2 separate regions of the Homo sapiens genome follow, and region 2 is linked to region 1. The links are contacts of gene promoters, found by promoter capture Hi-C in human tissues and cell types (Jung and others, 2019). All regions are on one chromosome and are shown on one strand. The core of a region is centred on a gene start or on the middle of the fragment in contact, and the rest is flanking DNA. Distances in the headings are between cores, read along the strand shown.

What was found. The method cuts DNA at HindIII sites, captures the fragments that hold promoters and counts their contacts. A contact is called where the count stands out against the background at its distance.
Region 2: a contact is called between a fragment that was not itself captured here and the fragment with the promoter of PIGH in region 1, in 1 of the 25 tissues and cell types used here (pancreas).

What each region holds. Positions count from the first base shown.
Region 1 is chr14:67,599,018-67,605,526 of GRCh38, forward strand. It overlaps PIGH (phosphatidylinositol glycan anchor biosynthesis class H), which reads right to left and starts at 1,251. Exons shown (of 4, transcript NM_004569.5): 1 at 1,007-1,251. The coding sequence starts at 1,186. It also overlaps a transcript of GPHN not described here. RefSeq lists an enhancer at 929-1,248. The HindIII fragment of the contact is 9,090 bases long and covers 1-3,826 here.
Region 2 is chr14:67,636,620-67,642,918 of GRCh38, forward strand. ARG2 (arginase 2) reads left to right here. Exons shown (of 8, transcript NM_001172.4): 3 at 5,567-5,744. It overlaps LOC124903331 (a long non-coding RNA gene), which reads right to left and starts at 3,094. Exons shown (of 2, transcript XR_007064218.1): 1 at 1,974-3,094. It also overlaps a transcript of GPHN not described here. The HindIII fragment of the contact is 3,175 bases long and covers 1-2,838 here.

The DNA.
Region 1 (6,509 bases), core at 1-2,500:
CATACGGTTTAGATAGTTAGATAGTTTCCTGCAATTAGGGCAGTCTTAATTCTGCATATTTCTATGCTAAATTACCATGCTCTGAAACACGCTTTGACAGCAAAAAAGCGAATGGATGCAGTAATGGAAACAATATCCAAGTTACAAAAATAAATAGCCCTGCTGTACTTAGCTCTGATTAGATCACTTCTGGGATAATACATTCAATTCAGGCACTACATATGAAACTAGAACTTATCCTGAAAATTAGGATAATTCTTTTTATTTGAGAGCTGTCACAAAGTTACTGCATTTAACCCTCACAATATCATGAAGCTGGTATGGCAGGCATGAATTCTATTTTAGAGATGTAGAAAATTGAGGCTCAGAGAAAACAGGAATGAATCTGGAAATTGAGCACAGCTATCACACACGTCCAAAATTTCATAAACCTTTAGAAAGTACTTGAAATTGGGGAAGGGTTTGGGAGGAGGGAGGGTTAAAAAACTCCCTTGAAAAACAGAGATTAGGAAGAACTATAACACTCTATCTATACACACAGATAAACACACACACTTGTGGAGGCAAAGACAGTTTGTGGAAGTCTACGTAAAGTATTGTTAGCAGTACTACTTTGAGGAGCAGAAGGGATGGACGAGGAAGACCCACTTAGTAGTTCCTTGAACTCTTGGAATTAAATTACTGCGCGCCTATACTACATAGAACACATGGCAGTTAAAGTTTTAGGCCGTCGCGCAAGAACTAGATGTATGCTGAGTGAACCCACGGAGCAGAGCACAGCCACGGAAGGGGAATGTACTATCCAGGAGCACACATTTCACTAAACGTCATTTAAAGAGCTGTCCAGCAGCGGAATATCGTCCCCAGAACCCGTGAGTTCCCGCCCTCCTGTCCTATCACTGTAGGAGGGGCCGACCAGAGGTCCGGGCTCGACCAAAGACCCCAAAGACCCTCCCAAAGCCGAACCCCCTCCTTCGAGCGCGGGGAGGGGCCGACTTGCCATTACCTCGCAGAGGGTGAAGAGTCCGTAGGCCGCCAGCCACACCGTGCAGGTGACAGCGGTGAGCGAACGCAGCGAGAGCCGAGGGCAGCTGAGGCAGAATTCCCGGCAGGACGGGGAGTAGTAGCGGCGCTGCAGCGCCAGGCGGCCGCCGCAGATATCCGAAAAGCTCCGCTCATCCTCCATGACGCCCCCACTCGGCCGCCCGCACCGCGCGGCGCTGCACTGCGCTCGCCGGCCCTGGCCGTCTCGCCCGCTCCAGACCCGCTTCCGGCAGCCGCGTCACCACGCCCCGCCCTAAGCCTGCGCAGCCTCAGTTGCGCGCCGAGAGCTCTGCTGGGGGCTGATGGTTGTGCGTTCTTCCGGGCCGGCCTTGACTGTCTTCGAAAAAACCTCGTCGGGGCAATAGTTAAGTGGAAAGATTAAAATCGTTTTTAGACCGGGCGCGTTGACTCAGGCCTGTAGTCCAGCACTGGGAGGCCAAGGCGGGAGGATCGCTTGAGCCTGGGAGGTCGAGGTTGCAGTGAGCGGAGATCATGCCCCTGCTCTCTAGCCTGTGCGAGAGAGCAAGACCCTGTCTCAAAACAAACCCACAGTTTGTTTTTGTTTTGAGACGGAATGGCGCGACGTCGGCTCACTGCAACCTGCTTCCCCCGGGTTCAAGCGATTCTCCTGCCTAAGCCTCCTGAGTAGCTGGGATTACAGGCGCGCGCCACCACGCCCTGCTGATTTTTGTATTTTTAGTAGAGACAGGTTTCACCATGTTGGCCAGGTTGGTCTCAAACTCCTGACCTCAGGTGATTCGCCCGCCTCGGCCTCCCGAAGTGCTGGGATTACAGGCGTGAGCCACCGCACCCAGCCCAAACCCACAGTTTTAATCATGCTTTTGCTTGGCAAGCCGATTTCTCTAAGCCAGAGTGAGCCGCAAGGAGAGCCCACGGGTATTCATTTCACTTACTCTTTTCCTGTGCCGGGTAGTTTGAGGTGCTTGAGGATGCAGCAGTGAACGATGTTGATGACAGTCTCTGCCCTCGGGCAGCTTCCTTTCTAGTAGGAGACAATATGGAAATAAGAGAGTATCGTTGGCAATACTATGCTGACTGGCAGGGATGGACTGAGGACTTTACATAGGGCAGTCAGGCGAAGTCTCTAAGTAAGAGGACACTGAGTTACAAGGGTGACGAGCCAGACAGGACTGAAGGAGCTCTGGAGGAGGAATTTGCCAGAAAGAAAGACCAGGAAAGGCAAACCCCTCGAAGTTGGAACAAGCTTGGCTTAATGAAATAATCAAAAGGCGAGAAAGGTTGGTGTGTGGGGAAAACAGTTGGAAGCTGGGGAGGCAGGTAGGGGTCAGATCCAAGAGGGTCTTGTAGGGTCTGGTAAGGAGTTTGGATTTCACTGCCTGGGAGTTCTGTCTCCCAAATGACTGCTTGGACCGTGGTAGACAGGCAAGACCTGGCTGGGAATTAAGCAGGAGCGGGAGATGCAGAAGAAATGGATAATAAAATTACTAAACTCATGAGTAATAGTGGCCTATGAGTTCCATTTTTACTTCTGATGTGGCCCAGGAGTGGCTATGTGGACTGTCAAAACACTTGTGATGGGCTGGGCATGGTGGCACATGCCTGTAATCTCAGCACTTTGGGAGGCTGAGGAGGGCAGATCACTTGGGTCAGGAGTTCAAGATCAGCCTGGCCAACATGGTGAAACCATCTCTACTAAAAATACAAAAAAATTACCTGGGCATGGTGGAGCATGCCTGTAATCCCAGCTGTTCGGGTGGCTGAGGCAGGAGAATCACTTGAACTTAGGAGTTCAAGACCAGCCTGGGCAACAGAGCAAGACTGTGTCTATATTCATTTAAAAAAAAAAAAAGATCCATGGCATAAAGGTCTCACCAGCTTTAAGTCTCTCTGATGAAAGGTTCCGTTTCTTCATCTTCATTCAGAATTTTATTTCCCTTTCTTTTTTCCTAAAGGATTTCTTCAAGCACTTCTTTATTTTTCTAGTTTTATTTCTGTGCCCCGAATCTGACAATTAATACACTCCTTTTATTAGTCCGTTTTCACACTGCTATAAAGAACTACCTGAGACTCGGTAATTTATAAAGAAAAGAGGTTTATTGACTCACAGTTCCACATGGCTGGCAAGGCCTCAGGAAACTTACAATAATGGTGGAAGGCAAAGGGGAAGCCAGGCATGTCTTACATGGCAGCAGGAGGGGAGTGGGGAAGTGCCACATTTTTAAACCGTCAGATCTCGTGAGAGAACTCACTCAGCATCACGAGACCAGCATGGGGGAAATCCGTCCCCATGATCCAATCACCTCCCACTGGGTCCCTCCCCTAACAAGTGGAGATTACAATTTGACATGAGATTTGGGTAGGCACAGAGAGCCGAACCATATCACCCCTTTTACTATTGCATATATCATGTGTTTTATAATTATAAAAGTGATATTTGCTTATTGTGGAAAATTTGAAAAATACAGAAAAGAAAAAAATGTAAACCACCCATATTTCCATCACTCAGAGATAAGTACTGTTAATGTTTTGGGGAAGCCTGTAGTCCTGGAGTTCTTAACTTGGGCTCCACGGATAGAATCAGTGTTTCATTTTTAGTTTCATTAACTTCTAATTAAAATTTAACATTTCTTTTGATTATGAATATGGGCAACAAACTAGTATTAGTAGAGCTTGTGATTTTTGTCACTGACAGAAATCACAGATATTTTCTTTTCACAATAATTGTTTCAAAATGTCATTTCTAGTCATTGCTACTTCAAAATTGCAGTAATTATTAAACCCATCACTAGCTATTATTATTTAATGTGTCAATAAAGAGAAACATATCACTGTAACACATTTTTAAAATATTTTGATAACCATATTTTAATTTAGTTGATTTTCTTAGAAGTCCTATGTATTTATACATTTTAAAGCATTATTATAATAAAGGGTCCATTCATTTCGCCAAACTTCCAGAGGGTCTACAATACAAAAGGTACCTGTACAGGCTAAGAAGTTTCTTTTCTTTTTCTTTCTTTCTGGTTTGTTTTGTTTTGTTTGAGGCAAGGTCTTGCTCTGTCACCGAAAGCGGAGTGCAGCAGTGGTACGGTCATGGCTCACTGCAGTCTCAACTTCCTGGGCTAAAGAGATCCTCCCACCTCAGCCCCTCAAGTATCTAGGGCTACAGGCACACTCTACCACATCAGGCTAATTTTTGCATATTTTGTAGAAATGGCATCTCACTATGTTTCCCAGGCTATTTTCAAACTCCTAGGCTCGGGTGATCCTTCGGCCTCAGCCTCCCAAAGAGTTGGGATTACAGGCATGAGTCACCATGCCCAGCAGGCTAAGAAGTTTCACAATTATAGAGTTATAGAAAGAAAAAGGCCAAATGTACTTTACTTAATTTTTTAAAAATACTCAATTATTAGGAATAAATACTGTGGTAGTCTAAGATCTCTAAAATCCTTTTTCTTTTTAGAGAGAGGGTGTTGCTCTGTTACTCAGGCTGCAGTGCAGTGGTATAATCATAACTCATTGTGACCTTGAATGCCTGGGTTGAAGCGTTCCTGTTGCCTTGGCCTCCTAAAGTGCTGGGATTGCAGGCATGAGCCACTGCACCCAGTCACTAAAATCCTTATTACTGCTTTGTGGGTTGTTTGTTTGTTTGAGACGGAGTTTTGCTCTTGTTACCCAGGCTGGAGTGCAATGGCACAATCTTGGCTCACCACAACCTCCGCATTCCAGGTTCAAGCGATTCTCCTGCTGAGGTCAGCCTCCCAAGTAGCTGGGATTACAGGCATGCGCCACCATGCCCAGCTAATTTTGTATTTTTAGTAGAGATGGGGTTTCTCCATGTTGGTCAGGCTGGTCTCAAACTCCTGACCTCAGGTGATCTGCCCGCCTCAACCTCTCAAAGTGCTGGGATTATAGGCGTGAGCCACCGCTCCCAGCCCTGCCCTTGTTTTTTGTTTTTGTTTTTTTTTTGAGACAGTCTTGCTCTGTCGCCTAGGCAAGAGTGCAGTAGCACAATCTCTACTCACTGCAACTTCCACCTCCTGGGTTCAAGCGATTCTTGTGCCTCAGCCTCCCAAGTAGCTGGGATTACAGGCGCAAAGGTTTTAGCTTTCTTACTGGGATGGATAGGCAAAGAATGTCTGTTCCATCTTTCAGAAATGGAAGTCTCCTCATCTGTCCATTTAAGGAAATGTTTTAATTGAGGTATATCCTCCAAGCAGTAAAACAGTCTGTGACTTACTTTTCCATACTCTAATGGTGTCTTTTGATGAACAGAGGTTTTAATTTTCATAAAGTCCAATTTATCAATCTTGTCTTTTATGGCTAGTGTTGTATAATATTTTGTCCTGTTTAGGAAGCTTTGCCTGTCTTGCGGGCATGGTGGCTCATGCCTATAATCCCAGCACTTTGAGAGGCTGAGCCAGGAAGATCGTTTGAGCTCAGGAGTTCCAGAACATGCTGGGCAACATAGCGAGACTCTGACTCTACCAAACAAAAAACAAAAAACAAAAAGCTGGGCATGGTGGCACAGCTACTAGGTACTAGGGAGGCTGAGGCAGAAGGGTTGCTTGAGCCCAGTAAGCCCAGCTTACTGTAGGAGGCTACAAAAAGCTGTGATCAAGCCACTGCATTCCAGCCTGGGTAACAGAGCGAGAAAAAACAAACAAAACAACAACAACAAAAAAAACTTTGCCTATCTTTTTTTTCCCTAGAAGCTTAATTATTTTACCTTTCATATTTAAGCCAATGATCCATTTTGAACTAATTTTTGTTTGTAGAGGTTAAGGGTCATTTTGTTTCCCAGCAGCACGTGTTGAAAAGACTACCCTTCCCCCCTAATTGAGATAGTGCCTTTGTTGTAAATAGGTGACCACAAATTTCTCGGTCTATTTCCACACTCTCTATTATGTTCTGTTGTTCTATTTTGTCTTCCCTTGTGCTAATAGCAACCTGTCTCAATTACTGTAGCTCTACAGTAGGTCTTGATTTCTCATACTGTTAAGTCTTTCAACTTTATACCTTTTCTTCAAAATTGTATTGGCTATTATAGGGTTTTTGTATTTTCACCAAAAATTTTGCTTGGATTGTACTGAATCTATCAATCAATCTAAGGGAGAATTGACATCTTAACTATGCCGCATGTTCCAATCCATGAACCTGGCATCTCTCCATTTATTGAAGTCTTCTCTAATTTCTCTCAGCAATGCTTAACAATTATTTGCACATCTTTCATTAGACCTCATTTGTAGGTATTTGATGTTTTCTGATATTCTCATAAATGATGTACATTAAAAATTTATTAACTCTCCCTTTTTATTTATTTATTTTTAGAGACACCATCTCACTCTGTCACCCAGGCTAGAGTCCATTGGCACAAATATCAGCTCACTATAACTTCAAATTCCTGGGCTCAAGGTATTCTCCCACCTTGGCCTCCCAAAGTGCTGGGCTTACAGGCATGAGCTATTGTACCCAGCCTTGCC
Region 2 (6,299 bases), core at 1-2,500, 38 kb after region 1:
TCTGTTGATGCACTTGTGTTCTTGTTCCACTCTGATAGAGCCTGGAGAGGTTTATCAAGGCCAAAGGTAACATCTGGGCCTGAAAGATCAGAGTAGTACTCGGTGTATTTTATTACCAGCACTCAGGAGAGAAGCAACAAGGCTGTGCCAGTGTATAAACAGCAAGTGAAAAATGAGACCCTTTCACATTGTTCCAAATCTATTTGACATGAGAACTTCCTTGAAATTTCAGGCTCCTCTTGTCCTACAATGTCCTCTTAGAAGAAAGAGCAGCAATGAAACACTAGGTCTCATCTGACCTGGACTTACAGATGAATTGACCTGATGCACAGTTAGAGAAAGGGAAAGTTCCCACAGGCATAACAGCCAGACACATATTCCTTACACATTACAATGTCTGCATTTTTCATCATTACCCTAAGCTTCTTGAAAAATTAGTGAGACCGTTTCTTATGACCTATGAACCAGAAGAACTTGCCACAGCACTCTGATAAAGAAATAGCTTTAAGGCTGGGCATGGTGGCTCACACCTGTAATCCTAGCGCTTTGGGAGGCTGAAGTGGGAGGATCACTTGAGGTCAGGAGTTCGAGACCAGCCTGACCAACATGGCGAAACCTCGTCTCTACTAAAACTACAAAAATTAGCTGGGCATGGTGGTGCATGCCTGTAATCCCAGCTACTTGGGGAGGCTGAGGCAGCAGAGCCCCTTGAACCAGGGAGGTGGAGGTTGCAGTGAGCCGAGATCATGCCATTGCACTCCAGCCTGAGCGACAGAGCAAGACTCTGTCTCAAAAAAAAAAAAAAAAAAAAAAAGAACTTTAATATTACTCAGTTCATCCTGCTGTTACAAAAAGTTAACTTCCCATCAGCCTCCTCACTCCTCTTAAAAAAAAACTGTAGCAGATGGGTTACAATTCATGTTTTCTACAACAACATACTAGAACCAGGGTTCAGATAATCCTAGAACTAGGGTTCTGTTCTACCAGTCCTTTGGGTATTGGTAGTACCCAATACTATTGGCACAGTGGGCATTAGAGGAGAAAGCTCTTAAGAGGTGACATCAGGCTGGCATCATGTATTTGTTGATTCAGTTATGTAATTAACTAGAATAGTTTAACATAAATTTGTAATCCTAGAGCAACTTTCATATTTTGTTCTTAAAGGTTATGGCAGTAGAATAAAAAAGTACTCACGGTGGCATACATTGCTAGCTGTCCACCAAAATCCATTCGCATTCTGTTCTGGACATAAGCTAGACCTGCATTTGCTGGCCAGTGCCAAAAGTGAGCAGGAGTAATGTGCCACTTTCAGGCCAGAGTCTTGAAAAGAGGAGGTGTGCTTTCTCAATGCTTTCTTCCTCTCCCGCTGCCTTGAACCTGGGGAGACCTAGACTTAGCCACACAGATGGCAAAGTCCTAGGCATGAGAGCCACAAGCCAGGTCTCTGAATTACTGCATAAAGGAAAGCCTCCTGCTGACCTGGAATATCTACCCTGGATGCTAAACAAACAAGAAATAAACTTGTTTGAGCCATATTTTGGGCTCAAACATATTTTGCTATGACAGTTAATTTACTCTAATAACCTTACTTAAAATAATATTATGTATTATGCCTATAACTAGCCCAGGCATGGTGGCTCACATCTGTAATCCTAGCACTTTAGAAGGCCATGATGGGAGCATTACTTGAGCCCAGGAGTTGGAGACCAGCCTGGAAAACACAGTGAGACCCTGTCTCTACAAATAATCCAAAAAAAAAAGAAAAAAAATGATTAAAGTCTGAAAGGATACAGTAGTAAAACCCGGGCAGTAGGTTTGGGACCTCTGATATACACGTTATCCAATTTTACAGAGAATTTCAAAACAAAACAGTGCAAGTACAAACTATTTGTCATAGGAGTTCTTCTTTGACGCCCCTGATCCTCAGTGAACTTCCCCTGACTCCTTTAGGACTCATTGTCCCAAGTCCTTACCTGGCACTGAAACTGTGCAAATTATAGAGTTGAGTTCGTTCTTCCTGAATATTCTAGGGGGAAAAAAGAAAAAACAGAGTTGGGAGCAGGAAGGTAGGCCACTCAGGCAGGGCCTCTCAAGGTATAAATCCCTTTAGAGGAGGCTGGCCCTTAGCTTTGTGGATGCAGAAACACAAGGTTGCTGAGTGCATAGCTCATCAGGCTTTCAGACCCAGACTCATGCTAACCATGCTGGATCAACCAAAATGCCCGTGCATAATTATGTTAAGCAGTAGTCCTTCCAGTGTCCACTGTCTAGAAGCTTTTGCCCATATTAAGGCATGTGGGAAACCAACTGAATAGCCAGAATGCTGTTTGGTGAGATGGCATCGGAGTAAATGGAGTTGGACAATGTGGACAGAATCCACTACCCAGGTTGGGAATTAATCTGATGAACCCCCGACAGAAGTTAGTAACCCTTCTAGCACCTGTAATGAGAGCAGAGTGGTGGCCTGAATTAGCGACTGAAATCCTTCTATGAAATTCAGTCTCTCTTCCTGGGAACGTTACTGTAAGATTGCCAAATTCTCTTTAGGTTCCTTTTTAGGCTTTGTGCAGCTTTTTTCTAATACAAGTGAGTACTGTTTTCTGTCACGTTTATCTGAGTCTACATCCTGGTTTGCATGATTGGACTTGGGTAGTCCCAAAGTTCTGTGACTTATCCACTGGATTGAGCACTTTAATTTCCCTGTATTTCTTCTTGGTCCTATGAGGATTGAATGAAAGTGCTTGGCAAATAGTTCTGAAACGTTAGTTAATATTATTTAACTCCAGTTTGGGGCCTTTTATATGACTATTCCTTAGAGTGCAATTACCAAAATATAAATTTATAAAGATTATAAATCTTTTATAATTGTACACCTAATATTATAAAACACCAGGCATACCCTGGTGTCTTACATCTAGTAAGAACCTAATGGTTGATGTGATTTAAGGAGAGTGCTGAGATAAACATGGAGGTGAAAGTAGAAACATCCAGGAATTGTCCATTCAAGATCTGTACAGTACACTGGGTGCAGTGGCTCATGCCTGTAATCCCAGCACTTTGGGAGGCCGAGGCAGGTGGATCACTTGCGGTCAGGAGTTCGAGACCAGCCTAGCCAACATGGCGAAACCCTGTCTCTACTAAAAATACAAAAACAAATTCACCAGACGTGGTGGCGCACACCTGTAATCCCAGCTACTTGGGAGGCTGAGGTAGGAGAATTGCTTGAATCCAGGAAGTGGAGGTTGCAGTGAGCCGAGATTGTGCCACTGCACTCCAGCCTGCATGATAGCGCAAGACCCTGTCTCAAAAAAAAAAAAAAAAAAAAAAAAAGTCTGTGCAGTCCAGGATTGTGTTGTCAACAGACAGAGGAAAGACTTGATATTGACTTGAAGGTTAATTAAAGCTTTCATTCTCTTAAGTCTAAAGTATCCTCTCCATATTTTGAGATTTGGTGAAGTCCATAATGACTTTACTCAAACCTTTTTGTCTTTTTTTAAAAAAATAAAAGATTTTTATAGATGTTTTATTTGGTTCACATTTTTATCTTGGTTCACAATGTCTTTGGCCTGTTGTCATATTTTTCTCCTCCTACCCCTGCTCTGCTACCTTTTTATCTGGTTGTCTGGATCTTCTCCAGGTTGGGGCCTTTTATATGACTATTTCTTAAAGTGTAATGACCAAAAGATAAATACAGAATTCTTGCTGTAGGTGTATCTCACCTTTAAGAATAGGTCTGGGTGACACAAGGGCTGGGGAGGAAAAAAAGAATAGGACAAAGTTTTCTGTCTTGTTTCCAATATCTCTTGCGGTGGCAATTCCTTGGTTGGCCTCATGGCTTTTTGTTATGGTCACTGCTCCTCAAATTTTTATATTTCTTCAGAATTTTGGCTTTGGATTGAGTTTGGGTTCAAGAGGTAGAGCTCAAAATTATAATTTAAATTCATGATGAGTCCATGCTGCTCTTAATCCGAACCTTTAACACAAATCTCTGCAAATATTAAGATACGCCACGTCTTATCTTGTTACTGCCCCTTTCCCACCAATACCAGGACCCTAAGAATATAATCTATGTCAATGTTCTGTTCTCTGATAGTTCAGATCCCTTTTTGATACAGTCAGATTATTTAGTCCTCATCCTAAATGTAGCATCCAACTTAGGTGGGGAAATATTCAAAGCTGTGAGAATATAGCACTAGTTCTTAAAGTGTTGGACTCATGAGGAATTCCTTAGGAGACAAACTGCATAGTAAAGGATAGAGGTTGAGCGTCCCTAATCCAGAAATCCAAAATCGGAAATGTTCCAAAATCTGAAACTTTTTGAGCACCAATATGACATTACAAGTTACCCTGAACACACTGTATTAATGGTATGTCATATTTTCTGCTTTTAAGTACTTATGTGTGAAAAAGTAAGAAAATAACTGCCTATCAGTAGCATATAAATTCAGAGTCAGGAAGATGGTGATGCCAAACAATCATATTGTCCACATGGGTGGCTGTGATAGTGACACCTTTGTTTTCTGATGGTTTAATGCACACAAACTTTGTTTCATGCACAAGATGATTTAAAATATTATATAAAATTACCTTCAGGCTATGTGTATAAAGTGTGTATGAAACACAAGTTTTGTGTTTAGACTTGAGTTCCATCCCTAAGATATCTCAATATATATATAATGCAAATATTCCAAAATCTGAAAAAAATAAAAAATCTAAAACACTTCTGGTCCCAAGCCTTTGGATAATGGGTACTCAACCTGTACAAACTTTGGAGCCAGATGGCCTAGATTTGGATCCTGATTCTGGCACTTAATAGCTGTGTAACTTGGGCGGTTACTTCTCTTTGCTTCAGTTTCCTCATCCACCAAATAGGCACATTTTAGTTGCCTCACACAACTGTTTTGAGTCTTAAATAAGAATTTATGTTAAGCAGCTAGAACAATGCCTGGGATCTTGTAAATAATCAATAAATATTAGATATTTCTTTTAGGATGTTTCAGATTGGCTATTTATAAAAGTTTATAATATGTGAATTTCTTGGCCAGGCAGGTGGCTCATGCCCATAATCCCAGCACTTTGGGAGGATGAGGCGGGAGGATCAGTTGAGGTCAGAAGTTTGAGACCAGCTGGGGCAACATAGCAAGACCCCATTTCTACAAAAAGAAAGTTTAAAAAAATGAGACTCTCTTTGTGTATTTTTTTGCTAAATTAATAGTACTTAATTTCCTTTAAAATTGTTGGTTCTTAATTTTCTTTAAGATTGTTGGTTCTTTTTGATATTTTATTTCTACTCTATCACTCCAGGATATCTGAGGTCTAATGGTTAACCATTTTTTTATTGTTGGGTTAAGTCAATCGATATCTCTTAGTTTCAGTTTCCAACATCTGCAAAACTGTTCATAATAGGATCGAGATAATCTTCCCACAATCATTTGACATTTTAAATTTTACTGTGACAAAATGATTATGATGTGTACTTTGTCACGTATTATCATTGTGGCCCAGGCTAGTTAAGAGTTGGAGATAGCACAGAAAATTCATCTTGTCATCCCTCATTTGCTTCCAGGCTGCCACCTAAAAGACTTTGGAGATTTGAGTTTTACTCCAGTCCCCAAAGATGATCTCTACAACAACCTGATAGTGAATCCACGCTCAGTGGGTCTTGCCAACCAGGAACTGGCTGAGGTGGTTAGCAGAGCTGTGTCAGATGGCTACAGCTGTGTCACACTGGGAGGAGACCACAGGTAAGCTGGGAGCCAGGCGTGGTGAGGGGATGGATTACATGGTGCTTGGGGCTCATAACTTAGCTTCTTTATCTGTTTCTTCATCTGGAGAAAAATACCCTACAGAATTTTTAGGGTAGATATTAAAATGAACAGCAAGCATTTAAATGTCTAAGATCCTGAGCTGCTCAAGGGGCACTGTGGTTTTCTTTGTATGACACATTGCACAGTAAGAATATGTACATTCAGACACAGCAAGTTCAGAGGTATACTAGGCAAGGTTCCTAGGCACTGTGTTAACATGCTTGTCTCCTGGAAAGCTTTCTTGAGACTTATCTTATGACTTTGGAGAATTAGAAAGATCCATTGATAGGCTGAATGTGCAAGTTTTTGTTAGCATTTCTGCTAATAGACCTGTTAGAAATCCCCTTTGGCATGTTACTACATTTTCTTTTTTTTTTTTTTTTTTTTTTTTTTTGAGATAGGGTCTGGCTCTGTTGCCCAGGCTGGAGTACAGTGGCATGATCTCAGCTCACTGCAACCTCTGCCTCCTAGGCTCAAGCCATCTTCCTACCT